2 separate regions of the Homo sapiens genome follow, and region 1 is linked to region 2. Evidence: promoter capture Hi-C in human tissues and cell types (Jung and others, 2019). All regions are on one chromosome and are shown on one strand. Each heading gives the region's core, a stretch centred on a gene start or on the middle of the fragment in contact. The rest is flanking DNA. Distances are from core to core; before and after follow the strand shown.

Region 1 (3,004 bases), core at 443-2,942, 60 kb before region 2:
ATGTCTCAGCTGTTCCCAGGTGTCACCACTGGGGCCACCCAAGCACCAACTTGGTCACCCAGGTCCCCATGTCCTTGGTCAACTGCCAGGCGTACCCACACTGGGGCATCAGGAGAGGGGAAACGGGAGAGGCTGGAGCCACTCTCCATGCCCGGTCCCTCATATTTGGATATCAGAGCAAAGGATGCACCTGCTATCCTGGAAAAACCTCCTCATCCTCCACAGGGTGGGGTCTGTGTGCGTGGCAATGTAGGGGCGCATGGCACAGTCTGGGTCTGGGCCCAGGAACCCAGCTGGGGCTCTAGCCCTGACTACCTGTGCCTCCTTGGGCCTCAGTTTCCCCATCTAGGAACTGGGCTGGCTGATCTCAAAGTGCCCTCCGGTGGCCATTCTAGCATGGTTTCTTTATACAATCAATCACCTTTGATTACCACATTGATGGGGGGAGGACAGGTGACGAAAGCATTGCTATCACTGCTACAATTACTGAGATCCCACACTTAACTACAGGCAGACCAGATACCAGGCTCGGGGCTAAACGTTACTTGTGCCTCACAACCACTCGGCGCAACAGAGGTGCATGCACCCACATTACAGACAAGGTTAGTGAGACCCACAGAAGGGCAATCACTTTGCCCAAAGTCACACAGCTGAGGATGAAGAATGGAGAAGTGGCTGGGATAGAACACAGGCCTGTCTGATTCTGAGTCCTAGTTCCCAGCTGCAACCCTTTGCAGAGAATAGAAAACAACTGTCAACCGCCAAATGTGGCCAATTTGGCTCCAGAACCCAGGCACAGCCTTGGATCCCAGAGCCCCAACTGCCCAGACATCCCGGTGGGTGAGGGAGAAAGAGAGGAGAAGCCACCATCTCATCCAGGCCCCGGGCAGGAGCTGCAGTCCTTCTCTAGGTCTCTGTTCTGACACTAGGATCCTTCTCTCTCTACTTAGCTGTCCTGGGCTCACACCCTTTACCACGGAGCTGTCCAATACGGTAGCCTGGTGTGCAGAAAACCTCGGCTATCACTTCCTGTCATAGTGACCATTAGAAGATCACCCCAGGTCAGAGACAGGTGACCTTACAGAGAGATCAGAGCTGCCCCAGAAGGCCACGGGGGCTCAGGCGCAGATTTGGATAGAGGAAGCTATGTTAGTAGACACTCACCTTTCCAGGGTGGCTCTGTGTTTTCTTCACTCATATCCCTGTCTTTATATCACAACCCCATTTCTGGAGCGGGGAAACTGAGACAAGTTCCAACTTCTGAACTTGCCATCCAAACAGCGACTCCTAACTTTGCCCTACTCAGCTCCCTCGGCTGCAGCCTGGACTCCTCCACGCGCAGCTCCACGTGTGCCCAGCACCACTGCGCCTGCCCATCCCTCCCGGGCGCTCTTAAAGGGCCCACACCCCGTCCCACCCCCAACGTTGGCCGGAGAAGGTGGAGTCCAGCCAGCGCGATAGGTGAGAGCAAGGGACGAAAGGTTTTCTGTTTAAATTGCCACCATCACCAGCTCGCCAGCGAGTGGCAGGGGGAGGGGAGGAGGCAAGAAAACGGAACTTAGTATCCCACTGACTCCACGTGTGACCCTGGGTGACTTGTGTGCCTCTCTGAGCCTCAATTTCCAGATCTGTTGAAGGAAGTGGTGGCACCTGGAGGAGTGAGGTGGCATCAGGTGATGTGTGGTCAGGATGATAGGGCAGATTCGTCCTGTAAGAGGACCCCTCTGAGTGCTGTGGGATGTAGTTGTCTGAGGGTCAGAACTCGTTCCATCCTGAGGCTGTGTGCAGGTGTGTGTGACCTCAGGCAAGTGATCACTCCTGAGTCATCTATTTCCCAACTGTAAAATGAGGCTCCAACGGGGAGCTGTGGCTCATACCTGTAATCCCAGCACTTTGGGAAGCAAAGGCTGGAGGATCACTTGAGCCCAGGAGTTCAAGACCAGCTTGGGCAGTATCACGAGACCCCTATCTGTACAAACAATTTTAAGATTAGCTGGGTGTAGTGTGTGCCTGTAGTCCCAGATACTCAGAAGGCTGAGGTGGGAGGATCACTTGAGCCCAGGAGGTCAAGGCTGCAGTGAGCCATGATCGCACCACTGCACTACAGCCTGGGCAACAGAACAAGACCTCGTCTCATAAAATAAAATGAGGCTAATATTTTAATGTATGTACCATGTGAGGTTTAACTTAGGAGACAGGTGGTCAAATCCCCTGGGTAGCACAGAGCCATTAGGTAAAAGACATATAACAAAGGTGGAGTATTCCCATCCTTGCCTAGTGCAGCTGACTTCCAAGTCACCTTGGAAAGTGGGTTTCCCAGTCAAAAGAGTTTGAGAAACAGATGCCTATCCCGGCTCTTGGAGATACACAAATCGCATTAACATATTAAAGATGCTAACAGATCCTGCAGGCAAGATTCCCTTTTAACTTCTTTGCAGTGGCACAGTCTCGGCTCACTGTAACCTCTGCCTTCCAGGTTCAAGTGGTTCTCCTGCCTCAGCCTCCTGATTAGCTGGGATTACAGGCATGCTCCACTACACCTGGCTAATTTTTGTATTTTTAGTAGAGATGGGGTTTTGCCATGTTGACCAGGCTGGTCTCAAACTCCTGACCTCAAGTGATCTGCCTGCCTTGAAGGCCTCCCAAAGTGCTGGGATTACAGGCATGAGCCACCACGCCCAGCCCCCTTTTAGCTTTAACCCAGCATTTCCCTAACTTTTTTGACCACCTAAGTTTTTGTTTCCACCTATTTACACCCCATGGAACAAACAAGACTTCAGGAAATGCTGAGTCCTGCCTCTTGTATTGCAATTGGGGAAACTGGGTAAGTCCTTTCTCCTCTCTGGACCTCAGTTTCCCCAATTACACTGCAAGGACTCATAATGAGTTTGTGGCAGAGCAAGGACTGGAACCCAACCCTGACCTGGGTGGCTGGGTCTCATTTCTAGTACGCCCTAACTGGTCCTGTCCCTCATATTGAATTAGGCACAAAAGAAGGGGAAGG
Region 2 (2,775 bases), core at 1-2,500:
GCTAAGGGACCAGGCCAAGGTCACACAGCAGGGGACTGCAGAGCACACCCCGGGCCCCACACAGGCCCGCTCTTAGCCCCGCAGATAACCCAGGCCTGACCTTTCTACCCTTGTTCCCCCAAAAGCCCACCTCGTCACCCTCCTCAGGAGCCCGGGGAGTCCCGACTTACCCTCTGCCCTTGCTCCGGAGCCAAAGTGGCAAAGCTTAAATCCTCAAGCGGTTCTTAGCATCCCAGAACAAAGCTCCCACAGGGTATCTGCCTAACATTTCAGGGGTTCACGGCCCCTCTGCCCCCAGCAGAGGCTCTTGTTTTAGAAGCTGAGCCAGAACAGCCACAGGGCCCACCTCTGCCCTGCCACTTCCCAAGCACCCCGGGGGCACCAGGCCCTGTGTGCAGAGCTGGCCCCAGGACAGGCCACCTGGTGTGGTGGGAAGGGCTTTGGGGCTGGATAGTCCCTGGGTTTAAATCCCAATTGTCTAGATCCCCGACCTAAGCCTCAGTTTCCCCATCTGCAAAACAGAGAGGACAGACAGAGGGAACAGCTGGGGCAGGCTGGAGCAGTGGGTGGCTCGATGAATGCATCTGTGGTTGGTGTTTCCAGGCAAGCGGGGAGTGTGGGAGTCTCTCTCTCCCCCACCCCCACCCCCGCTACCCACCCCCAGGAGCCACCCGCCCCCGGGACGTCCTGAGAGTCCAGGGCAGAACTAGAGGTTAAAGATTTTCATGCCTCTTGGAGGAAACAGCCGTCTCTCCGGGACTCAGTAACCAAGAAGAAGCCTTTGGAAGCTCCAGACTCCAAATTCCCTCCGACATGCTCAGGGGCCAAGGGCAAACCTTAGGTCCCCCGAAATCCCTCTTCCAAGTCTCCTAAGGTGGGCTGCAAGGCTCCGGGCCTTTGGTTCCCTGGCTTGGGGTCTCAGGGAACCGAACCGCCCTCCCCCCAGACCTGCTACCCCAGGCCCCACGTTGGTGCCCATTTCACAGGTGATAAAACCGAGACCCAAAGAGCCGGTGTCCGGCCCAAGGGCACTTAGCTGAGAGGCTGGCGCCTGCGGAACCTGGTGCCTTCCGTCTCCCGCGCCCCTGGCCCGCATTTTGGAGCCTCGGGACCCCCCGGAGCCGGACGGGCCACGGAGATGTCCCCAGGGGCGCGAGGGGACCTCGGCTGAGCCGCCCCTCCCGGGCCCGGGCCCCACTTACCTCCGGGACGGCTGGGCGCCGGCGGCCGGGAGATCCGCGCTTCCTGAATCCCGGCCGGCCCGCCCGGCGCCCGTCCGCCCGCGGGTCCCTCCTCCGCCGGCTCAGGTTCCAGCCGCGCGCCGCCCCCGGCCAGCTCCCCGCCCACCCGCCGGCTCGCGGACCCCGCCGAGCGCAGGCCCTAGAAGGGGCGGCCCCTACTCGCACCCCGCCCGCCCAGCGAGGGCCTCCCCTGCGGGGGAGGTGCAGGGCCAGGGCCTCAGTTTCCTCGCCTGGAAAATGGGTGTCGCGATCCCCGGATAGAGCGGCAGACGGTCTTTGGAGAGGGCTCTAGTTGGAATCGGCTCCGATTCGATCTTGCTCCGTGACTTCGGGCCGCCCTGGGACTGTGTCCTAGTCTCTAAATGGGCGTCCCGGCCCAGTCCTCCACGTGTTTGCTCATTCATTCATTCAGCAGACAATTTCCTCCGAGGCGTTGAAGGAGGTCCCTACCCTCGGGTATGGCCCATAGAGATGGTTCAGGGGTAAATAAATGTGAGCTGCTCTCCTTGGTCTTCACCCAGTGCTTACTGCGAAGCCTGCCTCGGAGTAGGCCATCAATGTTTTGTTGCTGTTGTTTTTGAGACAGGGTCTCACTCTGTTGCCCAGGCTGGAGTGCGGTGGCGTGATCAGGAATCACTGCAGCCTCAACCACCAGCGTTCAAGCAATCCTCCCGTATCAGCCTCCCTAGTAACTGAGACCACAGACGCCTACCACCATGCTTGGCTAATTTTATTTAAATTTTTTGCAGAGATAGGGTCTCACTATGTTGCCTAGGCTGGTCTCAAACTCCAGGCTCAAGCGATCTACCCACCTCGGCCTCCCAAAGTGCTGGGATTAGAGGTCTGAGTCACCGTGCCTGGCTCAATGCGTTTTTGTTTATTTTTTTTATTATTATTATTATTTTTGATACATGTTCTCCCTTTGTCACCCAGGTTGAAGTGCAGTGGCATGATCACGGCTCACTACAGCCTCAAACTCCTGGCCTCAAGAGATCCTCCCACCTCAGCCTCCTGAGCAGCTGGGAGTACAGGCATGCGCCACCACACCCCACTAATTTTTATTTTTTTGTAGAAGGGGGGGTGGGGGAGGGCAGCCGGTCTACAACTCCTGGCCTCAAGTGATCCTCCCACTTCAGTCTCCCAAAGCACTGAGAGTATAGGCATGAGCCACCACACCTACCCATGTATTTTCTTTTATCAGATAACAAAGGTGGGCCCCAACACATAGCCATACCCTCTACCCAGCACTGAGTCCACTTGAATACCTCCACAGGATGGGCAGCTCACTTCCTCCAGGGTGGTTGGAAAGCCTAGCAGGCCCACAGCTTGGCTCTGTGACTCTCTAACCCAGCAGCCCTATGCAAGTCCCTTCACCTTTGTGCCTCAGTGCCTCTACATCCCCCTGTAGAGTGGGGCATACAAAAGTCCTCACCTCACAGTCGCAGTGAAGATGCTGGGAGCATCCAGGCTGTGCAGAGCCCTTTTTTTTTTTTTTTTGAGACAGAGTCTTACTCTGTCGCCCAGGCTGGAGTTC

What was found. The method cuts DNA at HindIII sites, captures the fragments that hold promoters and counts their contacts. A contact is called where the count stands out against the background at its distance.
Region 1: a contact is called between a fragment that was not itself captured here and the fragment with the promoter of TRPV4 in region 2, in 1 of the 25 tissues and cell types used here (pancreas).

The regions. Positions count from the first base shown.
Region 1 is chr12:109,772,133-109,775,136 of GRCh38, forward strand. FAM222A-AS1 (FAM222A antisense RNA 1) reads right to left here and starts at 1,355. Exons shown (of 3, transcript NR_026662.2): 1 at 1,165-1,355. RefSeq lists an enhancer at 1-443. The HindIII fragment of the contact is 4,400 bases long and covers 1-3,004 here.
Region 2 is chr12:109,832,148-109,834,922 of GRCh38, forward strand. TRPV4 (transient receptor potential cation channel subfamily V member 4) reads right to left here and starts at 1,251. Exons shown (of 16, transcript NM_021625.5): 1 at 1,203-1,251. It overlaps MIR4497 (microRNA 4497), which reads left to right and starts at 1,201; the gene lies at 1,201-1,289. The HindIII fragment of the contact is 21,611 bases long and covers 1-2,775 here.